6 separate regions of the Homo sapiens genome follow, and all the other regions are linked to region 5. The links are contacts of gene promoters, found by promoter capture Hi-C in human tissues and cell types (Jung and others, 2019). All regions are on one chromosome and are shown on one strand. Each heading gives the region's core, a stretch centred on a gene start or on the middle of the fragment in contact. The rest is flanking DNA. Distances are from core to core; before and after follow the strand shown. Region 1 has its middle 13 kb from the start of ABR-AS1. Region 2 overlaps YWHAE (tyrosine 3-monooxygenase/tryptophan 5-monooxygenase activation protein epsilon). Region 3 holds the start of BHLHA9 (basic helix-loop-helix family member a9). Region 4 overlaps YWHAE (tyrosine 3-monooxygenase/tryptophan 5-monooxygenase activation protein epsilon). Region 5 holds the start of SCARF1 (scavenger receptor class F member 1). Region 6 has its middle 93 kb from the start of RPA1.

Region 1 (3,045 bases), core at 30-2,529, 450 kb after region 5:
CACTCTTGTCACCCAGGCTGGAGTGCAGTGGTGTGATGTCAGCTCACTGTGACCTCCACCTCCTGGGTTCAAGTGATTCTCCTGCCTCAGCCTCCCGAGTAGCTGGGATTACAGGCACGTGCCACCATGCCCAGCTAATTTTTGTATTTGTAGTAGAAAGAGGGTTTCGCCATGTTGGCCAGGCTGGTCTTGAACTCCTGACCTCAGGTGATCCGCCTGCCTCGGCCTCCCAAAGTGCCGGGATTATAGGCGTGAGCCACCGCACCTTGCCTATTTTTTTTTTTTTTTTTGAGACAGAATCTCGCTCTGTTGCTCAGGCTGGAGTGCAGTGTCGTGATCTCGGCTCACTGCAACCTTCTCCTTCTTGGTTCAAGCGATCCTCGTGCCTCAGCCACCTGAGTACCTGGGATTACAGGCACCTGCTACCATGCCTGGCTAATTTTTGTATTTTTAGTAGAGATGGGGTTTTGCCATGTTGCCCAGGCTCGTCTCGCACTCCTGACCTCAAGTGATCCCTGACCTCAAGTGATCTCTCCCCACAATCCCAACTTGCCTTCCCAAAGTTCTGGGATTACAGGCGTGAGCCACCGCGCCGGCCAATAATTTTTTTTTTTTGAGACAGAGTCTCGCTCTGTTGCGCAGGCTGGAGTGCAGTGACACGATCTCGGCTCACTGCAACCTTTGCCTCCCGGGTTCACACCATTCTCCTGCCTCAGCCTCCTGTGTAGCTGGGACTACAGGCGCCCACCACCACGCCCGGCTAATTTGTTGTATTTTTAGTAGAGACGGGGTTTCACCGTGTTAGCCAGGATGGTCTCGATCTCCTGACCTCGTGATCCACCCGCCTCGGCCTCCCACAGTGCTGGGATGACAGGCGTGAGCCACTGCCCAGCCAATAATTTTCTTTAAAATGCTCCTTACGCTACTTGCTGAGCCTGGGTCAGGCAGGGCTGGGGGCTGCCTTTGGGAGAGAGATACACCAGAGACTAGTTAATCACTGTAGCAGTAGAAAACACCCTTAAGGGCCGGGCCTGATGGCTCACGCCTGTAATCCCAGCACTTGGAGAGGCCAAGGTGGGAGGATCCTTTGAGGCCAGGACTTTTTTTTTTTTTTGAGACAGTCTCATTCTGTCGCCCAGGCTGGAGTGCTGTGGCGCGATCTCCGCTCACTGCAAGCTCCGCCTTCCGGGTTCACGCCATTCTCCTGCCTCAGCCTCCCGAGTAGCTGGGACTACAGGCGCCCGCCACTGCGCCCGGCTAATTTTTTGTATTTTTAGTAGAGACGGGGTTTCACCGTGTTAGCCAGGATGGTCTCGATCTCCTGACCTCGTGATCCGCCCGCCTCGGCCTCCCAAAGTGCTGGGATTACAGGCGTGAGCCACCGCGCCTGGCCTGAGGCCAGGACTTCAAGAGCAGCCTGGGCAACATAGTGAGGTTCTGTCTGTACAAAATTAAAAAAAAAATTAGGGTCGGGCGCGGTGGCTCACACCTGTAATTCCAGCACTTTAGGAGGCCGAGGTGGGTGAATCACCTGAGTCAGGAGTTCGAGACCAGTCTGGCCAACATGGCGAAACCCTGTCTCTACTAAAAATACAAAATTTTTAGGGCATGGTGGCACATGCCTGTAATCCCAGCTACTAGGGGGGCTGAGGCAGGAGGATTGCTTGAACCCGGGAGGTGGAGGTTGCAGTGAGCTGAGACCGCACCACTGCACTCCAGCCTGGGCAACAGAGCGAGACTCCATCTTAAAAAAAAAAAAATTAGCTGGGTGTGGTGGTGCATGCCTGTAGTCCTAGCTATGCAAGAAGTTGAGGCAGGGGGATGGCTTGAGCCTGGGAGGTCGAGACTGTAGTGAGCTATGATTGCACCACTACACTCCAGTCTGGGCGATAGAGTGAGACTTGTCTCTAAAAAATAAAGAAGGCTGGGCGAAGTGTCTCACACCTGTAATCCCAGCACTTTGGGAAGACGAGGCAGGCAGATCACCTGAGGTCAGGAGTTGAGACCAGCATGGCCAACATGGTGAAACCCCTCTCTACTAAAAATACAAAACAAAACAAAAAAATAGCTGGGCGTGGTGGCGTGTACCTGTAATCTTAGCTACTTGGGAGGCTGAGGCAAGAGAATTACTTGAACCCGGGAGGCGGAGGTTGCAGTGAGCCAAGATCGTGCCATTGCACTCCAGCCTGGGCGACAGAGAGAGACTCTGTCTCAATCAATCAATCAAAATATAAATAAATAAAAAAAAACAAAGGAAACACCCTTGCCACCAGAGATCCTCCAGGTACAAACCTCATGTTCAAGGAGAAATCAAAAGACCCAGGAGCTTGTCAGATTTCAGTAGAGGAGAAAGAGGATGGAAATTCATCTTTGTGTCTTCCTTCCTCTGCCACTTCCCCTGGAGAGTAAGCTTTAAGAGCTGCAGTGGCCAGGCGCGGGGCTCACGCCTGTTATCCCAGCACTTTGAGAGGCCAAGGTGGGCAGATCACGAGGTCAGGAGATCAAAACCATCCTGGCTAACACGGTGAAACCCCGTCTCTATTAAAAATACAAAAAAAAAATTAGCTGGGCGTGGTGGCGGGTGCCTGTAGTCCCAGTTATTCAGGAGGCTGAGGCAGGTGAATCGCTTCAACCTGGGAGGCGGAGGATGCAGTGAGCCGAGATTGTGCCACTGCACTCCACACTCCAGCCTGGGGGACAGAGGGAGACTCTATCTCAAACATAAAAACACACAAACAAAAAGGGCTGCACTGATGTGCTTGAATTAGCGTCAGTTGCCAGTACTCCCTGGCGTGCTGGAAACCGAGCTCTTCCTGAGTGAATGTCGGGCGGCATCTGGTCAGGATGCTTTCCTGAAGCTTCAGGACTGGTGGCCAGGTACAATTGCTCTGGACCGAGCCAGACCCGAGTGAGAACTTGGCTCTGTCACTCACTAGCAGTGTGAACTTGAGCCTCTTCTGTAAAGCGGGCGTGGTGACTGTGGCTTCCACATAGAGAGGCTGCTTGCGAAGAGTGAAGGTTACGTGCTTAACAGGGTGCCTAGAA
Region 2 (2,853 bases), core at 59-2,558, 300 kb after region 5:
GTGGTAAGAGGATTGTTTCATATACGAATCCATAGGTAGGAAATACATGTTCTCCCTGCCTGTTCCCCTCTCTCCAAAATGTAGATACACTGGGCAAAGAAACATAGCCAAGGAATCCTTTTTCCCCTAATATCTGTATGTCTTTCAAGAGGATATTACTTCCTTCTCAGAGTAGAAGGGAGGAGGAGTAGACAGATTGTTGCTTAGAGTGAAGTTTACACGAAGTAAGACCAAAGTCCGGCTCCTGTATCATTGTTTTCCTTTGTCCTGCTCTGTTGGTTTATTTTTCTTGTAATGTTGCTTTCATATGATTGTTCTCCCTCCCTTTTTCCTTGCAATATAGATTCCTAAAGGAAAACCCAACTCTTCCTTTCCTAAAAACTCTACTTTGTAAGTCACGTTCATGGCACAGTGAATTCCGCTTTCAGTTTTGGTTCTTCACTAATCATGCCTGCGTATGATCGTCCTGTTGCTTACAGACTCTGCCTGTTCCACCTTCCAGGGCGCTGACCTAAGCCTTTTCCGGCCTGCTCCTCCTGCCTACTGTGGTTGGATGTGATGTATATGACAGTGACATTTTTATGCCAAAGTTACTTGGAACTTCTGGCACATCTCATGGTTGCTTACAAGCGAGTTGTGTTCTAGTGTTTGTGTTAATGATACTTTGGCAGTGATTTGCTGTTAGAGTGAATGTTCCTATCATGTTTCCTACGTTTGAATACGTTATTGTCCTTTGGAGAACAGTTGGGTGCCCATCAGTTCTTTCATCCCTAAGCAATTTTTTTTTGCCTTTGCATATTTTTTTTCTGTCTTATGAATTAAAGATCTTCATGTATTTTAAGTAGTTTTAAAATTTTATACATTTTTTTGAGACGGAGTTTTGCTCTTGTTGCCCCGCCTGGAGTGCAGTGGCGTTCAAAGCTCACTGCAGAAATAGAACTCCCCCACCTCAGCCCCCCAAGTAGCTGGGACTATAGACATGTGGCCCCATGCCCAGCGTATGTAGTTTTTTTTTTTTTTGAGACGGAGTCTCGATTGTCGCCCAGGCTGGAGTGCAGCGGCAGAATCTTGGCTCACTGAAAGCTCCGCCTCCTGGGTTCACGCCATTCTCCTGCCTCCCGAGTAGCTGGGACTACAGGCGCCTGCCACCATGCCTGGCTAATTTTTTTTTTTTTTTTTTGTATTTTTAGTAGAGACAGGGTTTCACTGTGTTAGCCAGGATGGTCTCGATCTCCTGACCTCATGATCCACCTCTCTTGGCCTCCCAAAGTGCTGGTATTACAGGCGTGAGCCACCATGCCTGGCTCCAGCATACATAGTTTTTTACTTTTAGTTTTATTTATTCTTTTTTTTTTTTTTTTGAGACGGAGTCTCACTCTGTTACCCAGGCTGGAGTGTAGTGGCATGTTCTTGGCTCGCTGCAACCTCCGTCTCCTGGGTTCAAGCAATTCTCATGCCTCAGCTTCCCAGGTAGCTGGGATTACAGGCATGTGCCACCACGCCAGGCTAATTTTTTGTATTATTTTTTCAGTAGAGATGGGGATTTACTGTGTTAGCCAGGATGGTCTTGATCTTCTGACCTCGTGATCCGCCCGCCTTTGCTTCCCAAAGTGCTGGGATTACAGGCGTGAGCCACCGTGCCCGGCGTTATGTTCATTTTTTGTAGAGACAGGGCTTCACTGTGTTGCTGAGGCTGTAAGTGGGTTTTGAAGTCACACAGCAATGTCAAGCGTTTCCGCCGCAGAAGAGATTTGAAAACTACTGAAACCTTGATGCTGTGACATTTGTCATTTTGAGATCATTTAGGCTGTTTCAAAGCTGTACTCAGTGTAAATGCTTCATGTGTGTAGGCAGCTAGTTTGGTGTTATTTGTCCATCCTAATTAAATAATTTAACAAGCATTATGAATGGATAGTCATTTGAACATTTATGATTCTTGGGTTGATTTTTCATTTATTTTGTTTCAAACTAGTTAACTGTGTAGTAATTGTAAGTGGTTTTTTTAAAAAAGTACAAGTGAATGTAACTTTTACCTGTTACATCATTTTTAAGGGAAAAGCCTGCATGCTTCTTTATTTTGGCTGACTTGTTTAATGCATACTAATAGGTAGATGACCCTCCAACCAATAGGTGGCTTTCTGTTGCATGTCATAGTGCAGTTGAAACTCCTTAGGGTAATCACCCTCTTTAAAGGCAAAAGACAAATAGCATGAGTGAAGTGGTCCAAATGCCATTCTTTAATAACCTCAGTGGTCTGATTTACTTTGAGCATGCTGTGTTTCACTCTGAAGTAAAATCTGATTATAGTTTGGTGTATCTGGCCAAGATACAAAAGCTGAAATATTTATAACAGCAGAACCCCACAATAAAATACGATAGAACTTCTTGGCAACAGTTTATTGCTCAGTTAACTATTTTGAAGCATTTCTGATAATTAGCTTGTGGGTAAATTAGATTTTGCAAAAAGTTTGCAAAATACTCTTGATTCTTGAAGAGGTGAGGTTATTGAGAAAGAGTATTTTGACCCAAGATTTATGTGAAAGCTTGAATGTCATTTTAGTAAGATGGTTTCCTTGGCTGTCTACGTCAAGAGCTTATTTAGCGTAAAAACATTGAGTTGTACTGCGCATCAGTTTTTTTCATTCTGTTGACCAATAAATACTTTCAGGACCATAATCCCTTCTTGGCTTAGGCATCTCAGGTGTCAAGGATGATAGAAGTCCTTTGCCTGCGTTTAATACCAATTGTAGCAAGTAGAAGAGTCTTTATGCTTGGAATGACACCTTTGTTTGTGGCTGCCATAGCCTAATGTAGTCAATACGAAATAATTGACTTTTTTTCTTTTTTAACAGG
Region 3 (3,288 bases), core at 432-2,931, 380 kb after region 5:
CAGCTCTGCAGGGAGGTCCAGAGACGGGGCTGACCCCATCCTTAGACTCCCAGGCCCCGTGACCCCTCTCCTGATATCCTCTTCCACCCCAGGGGACTCAGGGAGGAGGGGTCTCTGGATGTCTCTTTCCTCCCCTTGGGCTCCCACAGTGCTCAGCCACACCTGGGGTCTTGCCATGAATGAGTTCCCCCAGGCGCCTACCTGTGGGCCTTAGGCCCCGCCCAGCATTCCAAGGAGAGCCCCCAGCCCTCAGGCGTTCCTGCCACCCTGGGCCACGGGGCCCACTGGAGTCGTGGTATCGGAGAGAAATGAGTTTTTCCTTTTATTTGGCTGCTGCCCCTGCCTGCCTCTCCCGGATCCTGCCTCTCCCGGATCAGGCTTGGGCAGCAGCGCAGGCAGGGAAGGGGACTCCGCACTCATGTGCCCACGAGACCACAGCAGGCCCCACCCGCATTCCCACGCTCCCACACCTCCTGCCTCAAAGCCCTCACTCTCCTAAAAGCATCGAGAACACACAGGGCTCGGAGGCGCAGGAGTGCGAAGGCGGCATTCCAAGACGAGTTCGAGTCCAAGATGAGTTCAGGATCCTGAGCCTTTCTGGCAACTGCCTCCCTAGGCTGGGATGTGGGGGCGCAGCCCCAGGCCCCGGAGCTCCTTCTCTCTGCCCCAGGCTGGGATGTGGGGGCGCAACCCCGGGTCCCGGAGCTCCTTCTCTCTGGCGAGCTCCTTCTCTTCCACGCCAGGTCTCAGCCGGTCCAGTTCTGCTCTGTCCAAGACGCCTTTGCAGTCCCGGGTTTTATAGTCCAGCTGCCAGCCCGGCCTCCCTGCAGCCCAGCCGGTGCCTCGAGGCCGGTCAGGAGCGCGGATGGCCCATCCCGGGGGCGGATCGCAGGTAGCCCCGCGGCCAGGGAGGCGGCCCGGCAGAGGAAGCCCCCGGACAGCGGCGCCAGCTTCCCCCGGAGGCCTGTGCTAGGCCCGGCCCCTCGGCCACCGCACTGGGCCGTGCCAGGGGCGCGTGCGGGGGGCACGAGGCGCAGCGGGGCGCGGACGGCACCGAGGGGCGGGCGGCGTCTGGGCGCGCGAGGCTGGGCCCTGCAGGCGGCGGGGGGCTGGCGCCTGTGTCCCCGGTGTCCCCGCGCGCGGCCGGGCCGTGGCACTCCAGGTGTCCGCAGGGCCCGCGGGGCGCGGGGCTGGCGCGCAGGACCAGGGAGAGCGCGGCGATGCGGTGGATGGCCCTGCGCAGCGTGGCGATCTTGGAGAGCCTCTTGCCGCCCAGGTCGTGCCGCAGCGCCCGGCGCAGCGCGTTGAAGGCCTCGTTGTAGTCTAGGATGCGCTTGCGCTCCCGCACGTTGGCGGCCATGCGCCGCGCCTTGGACCGCACCGGCCGCGCGCGCCTCCTGCCCGCCGGCTCCTCCGCCTCGCCCCGGCTGCAGGAAGCGCCGTTCGCCCCCAGCACCCCCGAATCGCCCCCGGGCTCGGGGCAGGGGCCCCCCAAGTCCTCCGCAGAGTCCTCGGCCCCCTTCCGCGCCGTGAGGCCTAGTCCTGGCGCGCCCCGCAGCATGGCCTTCCCGGGCACTCGCCCTCTGCCCCAGCCCCGGCCCTCTGCCCTCTGCCCTCTGCCCACTGCCTTGGCCCGGCTCGCGACGCGGACGGTCCCCGGCTCCTGGGGCTGGACACTCCCGAGACAGGCCCCTTCCAGCTGGGCTTTATGGCACCACGCGGCGCCCCGCCCTCCCGTCCATCCATCTCCCTCCTCCTGCTTTATTATCGGCCTCCAGGTAGGTCGGCGGGGGAGGAACCGAGGGGAAGAAGGAAAGCAAGGAGGGAAGCTTGCAGGTTCTTGTAAGCGGGGACCAGACGGGCAGCCCGGCCACGCTGCCCCGGGGACCTTGCCCTGCCTAGCTCTGGGGCCGCTGTGGGGTGTCTGGGTTCCACATTCTTCCTCCCCATTCCCAGATAAGGTGCTAAGTTTGGCTTCTAGCAGGAGAGCTGATAGGAATAAAAAGAGGCAGAGGGCCGGGCACTGGGGCTCACGCCTGTCATCCCAGCAGTTTGGGAGGCCGAGGCGGGCGGATCACTTGAGTTCAGGAGTTCGAGACCAGCCTGGCCAACAGAGTATATAAAACCCCGTCTACTAAAAACACAAAAATTAGCCGGGCGTGGTGGCAGGCGCCTGTAATCCCAGTTACTCGGGAGGCTGAGGCAGGAGAATGGCTTGAGCCCAGGAGCTGGAGGTTGCAGTGAGCCGAGATCGCACCACTGCACTCTAGCCTGGGAGACAGAACGAGACTCCGTCTCAGAAAAACAACAACAAAAACAACAACAAAACCTTGAAAGTTCTTGTCAAGTCCCGTGGGCAACCACAGAGATGTCACTGAGGAAAAGCATGAGTGTCCCGGCAGGACTCATATGGGAGGCGCAGGGCCCTGCAGGTAAAGCTGACCCAGAGCTTCCGGCTTTTTCAGCTATGGAGGGCGGCTGGCTGCAATTGGGGTTCGGGTTTTGGTTGGGCCTGACTCTCCCTCCACTGCCCTTTGACTCCCCTTCTGCAGGCAGAGCTGGGATGAGTCAGCAGCAGAGGGTGACGGGGAAGATCCCTTTGCAGCCCTGGGTCCACATCAGGGGCATCTTTGGGGTCCAGAGCCCTCGGGCAGCCCCATCTTGTGACACAGCCCTGCCAGGTTATGAACTCAATGAGCAGCCTCTGTCCTCTTCCCCCAGGGATTTGCATTTGAAAGAGGGTCTCAGAAAAAAGATGATGTTTATTCCCAAAGAAAGACCCCCAGTAGAATTTCCGGCATCCACAGCTGAGTTATTTGGAGCGCCTGAAGGCCACTCATTCCCAGTCACAATCCAAATGCCTCTAAGATGCCAAGGCCTATGGCATTGGAATGGGTGTGTGGTTCACATCCATCTCGCCAAAAGAGCATTGCCAATAACCCCATTATTTCAAACTGTGAATTTCTCCATAAAAGAAAATAATAAGGCATTAGGAAGCAGAGTGTATGTATTTACTTCTGTGATTGTCTGCCTTGCCCACTAGGATGAAAGCATCCTAAGGACATCTGTATTTCCCAGGTTCTATGTCCCCCAAATCTGCAATATATGTCGAATTATAAAACAGCTAGAGGCCGGGCGCAGTGGCTCACGCCTGTAATCCCAGTACTTTGGGAGGCCGAGGTGGGCGGATCACTTGAGGTCAGGAGTTCAAGACCAGCCTGGCCAACACGGTGAAACCCCGTCTCTACTAAAATACAACAATTAGCTGGACGTGGTGGCGGGGAGCCT
Region 4 (3,321 bases), core at 705-3,204, 270 kb after region 5:
TTAGCCTTTATATAAAGCAAGCTCAGGACCTTTCCAGAACCTAAGTGACTGAACTCTTTCTTTTTGAGAGACAGAGTCTTGCTCTGTTGCCCAGGGTGGAGTGCAGTGGCATGATCATAGCTCACTGTGGCCTCGGACTCCTGGGCTCAAGCGATCTTCCTGTCTCAGCTTCTGGAGTAGCTGGGACTGACTACAGGTGTGAGCCACATTTCCGGTTCTGACAGAACCTTTTTATGTCAGTGCCTGATGCTGTGCCCTTTTCTTCCCTTGGTGTGATTGCTTTTACTGTTCTTGGGCTAAGGAATTTGTTTCTGTGAGCACTCTGGTTGCAAAGTCATTGAAGTGTGATGGCTAAAAGCTCAGACTCTTAAGTTAGATTGTCTGGGTTTGAGTTTGGGTTTTACCATTGTGTGACTTTAGGAACATTACTCTTAGCTTCATTTTTCTGCCCTTAAAATCAGGATTAGGGCCGGGTGTGGTAACCCCTGCCTGTAATCCCACCACCTAGGGAGGCCGAGGCAGGTGGATCACCTGAGGTCAGGAGTTCGAAACCAGTCTGGCCAACATGGTGAAACCCTGTCTTTACTAAAAATATAAAAATTAGCCGTGCACGTTGGCGGGCACCTGTAGTCCTAACTACCAGGGAGGCTGGGGCAAGAGCATCACTTGAACATGGGAGATGGAGGTTGCAGTGAGATTGCACTTCAGCCTGGGCAACAGAGCTAGACTCTGTCTCAAAAAAAAAAAAAAAAGTTAGGGTTATGACCCTGTGTGCTTTGGTAAGAGGAACATTAATCCTGTCAGCCAGTACAGAACCTGCTCGTTTTTCCCATGGCAGATTCTGAACAGTTTGCTTTTTTCCTGACCCTGAATTTCATTAGGAGCTGTAAATTGTGCCTTGTGACTTGTCAGCCTGATAGTTGGAGACCTGCTCCTTTTATGATTTTGTACTTTGTGTTTATCAGAAACTGTTGAAGCTCAGCAGAGACTTGTTTTACTACCTGGCAAGGACAGTCTTGGGAAAATCAGGTTTACTGGGATGTTGATGTAAAGATATTAGAGGTATGAAACTAAGCTTTTTGTATTCAGGAGGCTGAGGTGGGAGGATTGCTTGAGCCCAGGAGTTGGAGACCAGCCTGGGCAACATACAAAGACTCCCGTCTCTTTAAGAGAAAAGAATAAAGTAAGCTTTTTTTGGGAGAGGGGTGAACCTCTAGGTGGAAAAAGAAATGCGTTTTAAGCAGGAGTGAACTTCTTTCCTTCTTTTCTTTTCTTTCTTTCTCTCTCTTTCTTTTTCTTTCTTTCTGTCTGTCTGTCTGTCTTTCTTGTCTTTCTGTCTGTCTTTCTGTCTTCGTTCTTTCTCTCATGGTGGCAGACGCCACCATGCCTGGGTCTCAACCACATTTTAGTATGTGAAACTTGTTTCTCTGGTAGAGTCACTGAAACCAGTTATTTCCCCTCTATTGTCACAGAAGCAAACAAAAGGATCCTCGTACAGATGCATTCAAATAAATATTCAAATCTGAGGCAATATGATTAAATCAAAGCACAACTCAAGTCAGATTCCCTGAGTTGTAGTCCACTGGCTTTGTGATCTGGAACAAGTTTAACCTTCGTGTTCTTCAGTATATGGAGATATTCTAAAATGGGATAATACTGGTACCCACTTCAGAGGTCTGTTGAGAAGATTAAGCACATTAATACAGCGAAGCATTTGGAACAGTGCCTATTTTAGCATGGGGGGTTTTATTTGTGAATAAGTCTGTTGAATGAACAACATAGTTGAAATGGGGTGTTTTATTTATGAATTAGTCTGTTGAATGAACAACATAGTTGAAAGAACACAACCACAAACCAAACCTCAGTTAACAAGTCAAGGGGAAAAACTTGTGACTCTACTGGCAGCAGCAGATGATGGGTGTCCCAGACACAAGCTGGTTCCATGTGGTGGATCTGTGTCTAGGCTATTACCATACAATGAAGGGAAACTTACTTGGAACTAAAGAGACTTAACTATGTTTAATTAACTTGTGAGGAGTATGTTTTTCAGAGTGGCGATTTTAATCACCCACCCTTGTCCCCAAACCATGAAAAGTCCCAGAAATTCGATTTTGTTACTCAAAATTACTGTAGCAAAACTGCCCGTGGATCCAAAAGAAGTGATTTCAACCATTTCAGTTTTTTGGTTCTTAAATTGCGATCCCACCTGCTGCAAACACATGACAGCCTTCCCCCACCCGTGAAATGCCCACATCCCACTGATAAAATACTTGCCGCAAAGGTGATTTCAGGAAATGCTAGTTGTGTTGAGGGCCTTTATGTGAATATAATGGTTGGAGTTCATCCTCTACTGAGGGAGGGCTGAAGGGTGTAGTTAGTCTAGAGTTTTGGATAAATCAGCTTTTCTTATATAGTTTTGGGGTACATTATCATTAGTATTATGTTTCTGTTGCTGGTGTTAAAAGGATAAAGATGACAGTGATATTGGAAGAGAGTGTCATTGTAGTCGTTATTTGTACAAACTGGTACAAAGCACTGGTCGTAGAATGTTTGGAGAGATTGAGAAGTTGACTTTCCATACTCTTGAAGGAGTGATGTGCTTGGTAGTGTGCACCTATAGTCCCAGTTACTTGGGAGGCTGAGGTGGGAGGATCACTCGAGGCCAGGAGTTTAAGGCTACATAGTGCGCTGTGATCATGGGCCTGTGAATAGCCACTGCACGACATACAGTCAGGGCAACGTAGTGAGACCCTGTCTCTTGAAGCAATAGAAGTGTCTCCTGACTCAATGCTACTTCTGTTCCTTAATCTGCTACCTTAAGGGATGCAGAGGGGGTTGGGGGAATTAAGAGGAGTCAGTGGGGTTTTAAAAATGAACAACTCCTACATACCAATAATGAAAAGACAAATAATTAAATATTTGGCAAAGTGTTTGAATAGATATTTCTCCAGAGAACATACGCAAAAGGCTCATAAGCACATGAAAAGGTGTTCAACACTATTAGTTATCAAGGAAATGCAAATCAAAACCACAAAGAGATACAGCTTCACACCCACTAGGATGACTAGTTTAAAGAATAACTAACAAGTGTTCCTGAGGACGTGGCCAGATTAGAATCCTGTGTTGCTGGTGGGAGTGTAAAAACGGTGCCGCTCCTGTAGAAAAGTTTGGGATGTCCTTCCTCAAAAAGCTAGTTACCATGTGATCCTGAAGTTCCTTCTAGGTGTATACTGAAGTGAACTGAAAGCATTTATTCATACAAAAACTTAAAGAACGTTCGTAGCAGCATTGTTTATAATAGTCCAAAAATGGAAACAACCC
Region 5 (3,168 bases), core at 603-3,102:
ATCCATTCTGCCTGACAACACTGCCTCTCCACATTCATTCTTCAAGTTCCTGTCTTGGCTGGGTCTGTTTATTCTTACGGGGGTGAAACTGTAGCCGCGGCTGTGTCAGGGCCTGCTGTGTGTCAAGCTATAAAATAAACCCTTGGCAGGGCGCGGTGGCTCACGCCTGTAATCCCAGCACTTTGAGAGGCTAAGGTGGGTAGATCACCTGAGGTCAGGAGTTCGAGACCAGCGTGGCCAACATGGTGAAACTCCGTCTCTACTAAAAATACAAAAATTAGCCGGGCATGGTGGCATGTGCCTATAATCCCAGCTACTCAGGAGGCTGCGGCAGGAGAATCGCTTGAACTTGGGAGGCGGAGGTTGCAGTGAGCTGAGATCGCACCACTGCACTCCAGCCTGGGCGACAGAGTGAGACCCTGTCTCAAAAAAAAAAAAATTAAAAATTAAAGGCTCGACATCCTGCATCTCCCCAGGGTTGCCTTCTCTCCAGCCCCGGGGGCCCTGCAGTCCCTCCATCCCCCCTGCTGGATTCCTGTTGTCCCTCAGGGCCTTGATCAATGGCCCTCACTTCTCCTCTCTCCTCTGTCTCAGTGAGGATGAGGCTGGCCCATGGATCCTGCTCTCCGATGACAAGGGAGACCATCCCCCACCCCCGGAGTCCAAAATACAGAGTTTGTATGTTGGGGAAAGGGGAAAGGCAAGAGTGTGGGGAGGGAGGAAGGGCCCTGGCTGGTCCTTCTCAGGATCCCCTTTCCCGCTTCTCTGCCCGTCACCCTGCTGTGCTTGGCTCTAAGCACACCGTCCCCTCCTGCTTCTCTGGCCCTGGCCCCCATCACCTTCACACTCCCTCAGGCTGCCCTTTCTTCCCCCTCTCCCCTTTTCTCACCATCCCCTGCCCTCACCCATATCCTTGACCTCTCTGGCTTCCTGGCTCAAAGTGCCTCTGGCTGTCTCTCTCCAGCTTTGGCCTATGGTATCGGGGTAAAGCTGAATCCTCTGAGGATGAGACCAGCAGCCCTGCACCCAGCAAGCTAGGGGGAGAAGAGGAGGCCCAACCACAGTCTCCAGCTCCTGATCCGCCCTGTTCTGCCCTCCACGAACACCTTTGTCTGGGGGCCTCAGCCGCCCCAGAGGCCTGACTTAGGGGTCTGGCTGTGGAAGGATGTGTGGCCTCAAATGAGGACAGGGCTCCCGCCTTCACAGCCCTCGCCAGGGGTCTGCCCCAATCCTGGCCTGCATCAGGGCAGGACGGGGTCTCAGCCCGCCTCCCTCTCTACGTCTCTGTACCGAGCCTCTGGGGCCAGATATAAGAGTGCCTCTCTGAGTCTCAGTTTCCCCATCCATGAAATGAGAGCTGACTGCCTAGCTCCCAGGGCTTTGTGCAGACGGCCTGAGCTCATGTAATAAAGAACTGCCCGTAATACACAGAAACTGTTCCTCGCCTGTCTGTCCATGTCTGTGCCACCTCCCAACCCTGCCAGGAGCAGAGGCAGGCTGAGGGGTCCTCGCTGGTCTCCTTGCTCAGTCACTGGGTGGGGTGGCTTCTTGCAGCTCAGGCCTTGCTTTGGGAGTGTGGCCTGATGGAAAGCCGTGGCTCCCAGCCTCAGTCCACCCCCTTCCCTGGCCCCGGCACCCAGGGACCTGCAACTTCATTCTTCTGGCCCTTCCAGGCCCAGGCCAGTCAGCCCTGCCATTGCCTTTCTTTCCCTTTCTTTTTTTGAGTGTCAGTCTTTCCAGCCACCCCCTCCCTCTCAGGGAGGTGCCTCGTGGCAGCCCGCCCCTCCGGCCTGGTTTCCTCAGGAAAAGCCCTGAGAGGAAGCAGGGAGGGGGTTGGGAGCTGTGGGGGCCAGACGAACCCGAGCGCTCCCACCGAGCTGCCTGCCATGGGGCTGGGGCTGCTGCTCCCGCTGCTGCTGCTCTGGACTCGGGGGACTCAGGGGTCCGAGCTGGACCCCAAAGGGCAGCACGTCTGTGTGGCCAGCAGGTGGGTCTCGTGGGAGTCTGATGCGTGTGGCCAGCAGGTGGGTCTCGTGGGAGTCTGATGCGGGTGGCTGAACCGGTGTTGAGGCCGTTAGGGGAAGGAGGAGACTAGGAAGGGGGCTTAGGCTGAAAGGAAGGGACTGCTGATGGCGGTCTGGCAGGTAGTGGCCAGCCAGGGCAGATGGTGGAAGGGTCAGGGAAGGAGAGGGGAGGGGCTGGGGACCCTAGCTGTAAAGATCCATTAGGCCTCCCCAGGGGGCTAAGGCAGCCTCCCCCACTGCAGCCAGAGACAGTGATCCACCTTCCTCAGGGCCAGGCTGCACCCCCCACCATGTCCGGCTGACCCCTTTTTGCCCCACAGCCCCTCTGCTGAGCTGCAGTGCTGCGCAGGCTGGAGGCAGAAGGATCAAGAATGCACCATCCGTGAGTAGCCAGGACAGACCCTCAGCCAAGGAGAAGGGAGGCCGTAGCCCAGTGACAACCCTTCCTTCCTACCCCATGGGGCCTGCCCCTCCTGATACCAGGAGTCAGGGTTTCTCCTGTGACGCACCCCCAGGCCTGAAGGGGCACCTCTTGAGGAGGCATGGCCCCTGGAGCCAGTGAGAGGGCAGGGGTGTCCCCTGGTCCTGCTCCCGTCTTTCCAACCTGGGTGGGGTGTCTTTCAGCCATCTGTGAGGGGCCGGACGCCTGCCAGAAAGACGAGGTGTGTGTGAAGCCGGGCCTCTGTCGATGCAAGCCTGGATTCTTTGGGGCCCACTGCAGCTCCCGTGAGTCTCAAGGGCCAGATGAAGTTGCTGGGCAGAGCTGGGTACGGGGGCAGTGGTGTGGGAGCAGGCGAGGCAGGTAGCCATGCAGCCTCAGGACAGCAGGGCCAGAATCCCCCCCAGCTTCACTGAGGAATTGCGGTCCAGAGACAGGAAGTGACACACACTCCCGGGAGATGACCTGAGTCACCGGGTTTTTACCCACATCCACAAAGCACTGCCCACCTGAGCATCTTCCTCTTCCACTTCTCAGAAAACCTGTGATTCCCCTTCATTGTAAAATGAGTGTATTACTTGCCTTTCCCACATATACCTTATACATGGGCAGTGGATGGAAGGGGGCCCCTGGCTGGGCTCTCTGCCCTCTCTGGCAGAAAGAGAGGGAAGGGAAAGGGGTTGGGAAGCAGGAGAGCCAGAGGGT
Region 6 (2,948 bases), core at 198-2,697, 280 kb before region 5:
GGCAGGGGGATCACTTGAGTCCATAAGTTTGTGACCAGCCTGAACAACATAGACGGTCCAGCTACAAAAAAAAAAAAGAAAATAGGCTGGGCACAATGGCTCACGCCTGTAATCCCAGCACTTTGGGAGGCTGAGGCAGGTGGATCACGTGAGGTCAGGAGTTCGAGACCAGCCTGATCAACATGGAGAAACCCTGTCTCTACTAAAAATAAAAATAAAAATAAAAAAAAATCAGCCGGGTGTGGTGGCGCATGCCTGTCATCCCAGCTACTCGGGAGGCTGAGGCAGGAGAATCGCTTGAACCTGGGAGGCAGAGGTTGCGGTGAGCCAAGATCGTGTCATTGCATTCCAGCCTGGTCAACAAAAAGCGAAACTCTGTCTCAAAAAAATAATAATAATAAAATAAAATAAAAAATAAATTAGCCAGGCACGGTGGCATGTGCCTGTGGTCCCAGGTACCCAGGAGGCTGAGGTGGGAGAATCACTTGAGCCCAGGGGTTCAAGGGTGCAGTGAACTGTGATTGTGCCGCTGTACTCCAGCCTGAGTGACTGAGTTAGACCCTGTCTCAAAAAAAAAAAAAAAAAAAAATTAGCTGGGTCTGGTGACAGTTTTAGGCCTCTTCTCAAGAGCTTTTGTGAATCCCGGGACTGTCCTTGGAATTTATATTTTCTTTTCACTGTTTTTGCTCATTTGAAAAATTGTCTCAAAATTTTCATGTTAATTTCAATCAAATATGTCTACTTTTCTTATTTGGAATATTTTCATGGATTTTAATATTTTGTTTCCAATTTTAAATGGTCTAATAGCAAATTGGCTTAAAAACTGAACGGGCAACCACTAATTCATATATCAATTTATCCTAGGTGATACTACAACATTTTACAATGTGTCTTAGTTTTTTTCTTTTTATTTGGAAATACTTACAGGTTCACAGGAAACTGAAAAAAAGAAAGCAGCAGGGAGGTCCTGGAGCCCTTTCACCCAGTTTCCCTCAATGGTAATATTTTGCGTAACTCCCTGTTAATTCACCATAAAAAAAATATATTTTGGGCCGGGTGCGGTGGCTCAGGCCTGTAATCCTAGCATGTTGGGAGGCTGAGGCGGGCAGATCACGAGGTCAAGAGATGGAGACCATCCTGGCTAACACGGTGAAACCCCGTCTCTACTAAAAATACAAAAATTAGAGCCAGGCGTGATGGCGGGCGCCTGTAGTCCCAGCTCATCGGGAGGCTGAGGCAGGAGAATGGCTTGAACCCTGGAGGCAGAGCTTGCAGTGAGCCGAGATCGAGCCACTGCACTCCAGCCTGGGCGACAGAGTAAGTCTCCATCAAAAAAAAAAAAAAAACTGGGCCTTTTCATCTCAGAAGTTCCTTCTCTCTCACTAGAGAGAGAGCTGTTTACCTTTCTCCTTTCTCTTTCTTTTGCCTATTAAACCTCTGCTCCAAATATATATATATATATATATATATATATATATATATATATATATATATATATATTTTTCAGTTAGTGATATTAATTTTACCTATTTGGGTAAAGTTTCCACATATTCAAACAACTTTGATAAGGAAAAAAATAAAGCTTCCAACAGGGACAAGGAAGGAATAGTCCTTTTCTTTTTTTCTTGGATATTTATGAATGAAATTTTAGGATTTTAAATGTCATTATATCATTGAACTGAGAAGTGGAAAATGAGAAGTGTTTGTCCAGATGCAGGATTATTGGCCAGAGTCCCCCTAACAAGTTTGGGGAGATGAAGGAGGTGTTCACAAACCTCCTGGAATTCAATGCAGGGCCCCTGGAATGTGCAGGTTTCCAGAGAGAGCTTTCTTTCTCTTTCTGTTTTTTTTTTTTGAGAGGTAGTTTCACTCTGTCGCCCAGGCTGGTGTGCAGTGGCCGGATCTCGGCTCACTGCAAGCTCTGCCTCCTGGGTTCACACCATTCTCCTGACTCAGCCTCCCGAGTAGCTGGGACTACAGGCGCCCGCCACCACACCTGGCTAATTTTTTTGTATTTTTAGTAGAGACGGGGTTTCACCGTGTTAGCCAGGATGGTCTCATCTCCTGACCTCGTGATCCACCTGCCTCGGCCTCCCAAAGTGCTGGGATTACAGCTGTGAGCCACCGCGCCCGGCCAGAGAGAGCTTTCTTTTTCTTTTTCTTTTCTTTTTCTTTTTTTTTTGAGACACAGTCTTGCTCTGTTGCCCAGGCTGGAGTGCAGTGCCACGATCTCGGCTCACTGCAACCTCCACCTCCTGGGTCCAAGTGAGTCTCCTGCCTCAGCCTCCTGAGTAGCTGGGACTACAGGCGCCCACTACCACACCCAGCTAATTTTTTGTGTTTTTAGTAGAGACGGGGTTTCACCATGTTAGCCAGGATGGTCTCGATCTCCTGACCTCGTGATCCGCCCCTCGGCCTCCCAAAATGCTGAGATTACAGGCGTGAGCCACTGCGCCCAGCCAAAAGCAGATGGAGTCTCACTCTGTTGCCCAGGCTGGAGTACAATGGCACCATCTCGGCTCACTGCAGCCTCCACCTCCCGGGTTCAACTGATTCTCCTGCCTCAGCCTCCCAAGTAGCTGGGATTACAGGCGCCCATCACCACGCTTGGCTAATTTTTGTATTTTTAGTAGAGGCAGGCTTTCACCATGTTGGCCAGGCTGGTCTCAAACTCCTGACCTCAGGTGATCCACCCGCCTCGACCTCCTAAAGTGCTGGGATTACAGGCATGAGCCACCGCGCCTGGCCTTTTTTTTTTTCTTTTAATTAATAAATAAATTAATTTATATTTTTGGGACAGGGTCTTCCTCTGTTGCCCAGGCTGGTCTCAAACTCCTGGGCTCAAGCGAACCTCCTGCCTCAGCCTCCTGAGTAGCTGGGCCCACAGGTGCAGGCCAGCACGGCCTTTTCATCAGATCCTGAAAAAGGCTAAGAACTGGCCCGGACTC

Evidence for each region. The method cuts DNA at HindIII sites, captures the fragments that hold promoters and counts their contacts. A contact is called where the count stands out against the background at its distance.
Region 1: a fragment that was not itself captured here is called in contact with the fragment with the promoter of SCARF1 in region 5 in 1 of the 25 tissues and cell types used here (pancreas).
Region 2: a fragment that was not itself captured here is called in contact with the fragment with the promoter of SCARF1 in region 5 in 1 of the 25 tissues and cell types used here (lymphoblastoid cells).
Region 3: a contact is called between the fragment with the promoter of BHLHA9 here and the fragment with the promoter of SCARF1 in region 5, in 1 of the 25 tissues and cell types used here (lymphoblastoid cells).
Region 4: a fragment that was not itself captured here is called in contact with the fragment with the promoter of SCARF1 in region 5 in 1 of the 25 tissues and cell types used here (lymphoblastoid cells).
Region 6: a fragment that was not itself captured here is called in contact with the fragment with the promoter of SCARF1 in region 5 in 1 of the 25 tissues and cell types used here (bladder).

The regions. Positions count from the first base shown.
Region 1 is chr17:1,193,374-1,196,418 of GRCh38, reverse strand. It overlaps a transcript of ABR not described here. Among named protein-coding and RNA genes, the nearest start is that of ABR-AS1, 13 kb to the right of the region's middle. The HindIII fragment of the contact is 6,525 bases long and covers 1-3,045 here.
Region 2 is chr17:1,345,499-1,348,351 of GRCh38, reverse strand. YWHAE (tyrosine 3-monooxygenase/tryptophan 5-monooxygenase activation protein epsilon) reads left to right here. Exons shown (of 6, transcript NM_006761.5): 6 at 2,853. Among named protein-coding and RNA genes, the nearest start is that of YWHAE, 53 kb to the left of the region's middle. RefSeq lists an enhancer at 343-637. The HindIII fragment of the contact is 6,466 bases long and covers 1-2,853 here.
Region 3 is chr17:1,268,837-1,272,124 of GRCh38, reverse strand. It overlaps BHLHA9 (basic helix-loop-helix family member a9), which reads right to left and starts at 1,681. Exons shown (of 1, transcript NM_001164405.2): 1 at 310-1,681. The coding sequence starts at 1,561. The coding sequence ends at 854. RefSeq lists enhancers at 529-1,279, 2,884-3,288. The HindIII fragment of the contact is 29,201 bases long and covers 1-3,189 here.
Region 4 is chr17:1,374,360-1,377,680 of GRCh38, reverse strand. The region is part of intron 1 of YWHAE (tyrosine 3-monooxygenase/tryptophan 5-monooxygenase activation protein epsilon); the gene reads left to right. Among named protein-coding and RNA genes, the nearest start is that of YWHAE, 24 kb to the left of the region's middle. The HindIII fragment of the contact is 3,515 bases long and covers 197-3,321 here.
Region 5 is chr17:1,644,416-1,647,583 of GRCh38, reverse strand. It overlaps SCARF1 (scavenger receptor class F member 1), which reads left to right and starts at 1,852. Exons shown (of 11, transcript NM_003693.4): 1 at 1,852-1,987; 2 at 2,345-2,406; 3 at 2,649-2,750. The coding sequence starts at 1,887. RILP (Rab interacting lysosomal protein) reads left to right here. Exons shown (of 8, transcript NM_031430.3): 7 at 595-678; 8 at 965-1,434. The coding sequence ends at 1,142. The HindIII fragment of the contact is 19,188 bases long and covers 1-3,168 here.
Region 6 is chr17:1,921,336-1,924,283 of GRCh38, reverse strand. No RefSeq gene overlaps it. Among named protein-coding and RNA genes, the nearest start is that of RPA1, 93 kb to the right of the region's middle. RefSeq lists a silencer at 1,989-2,171. The HindIII fragment of the contact is 9,514 bases long and covers 1-2,948 here.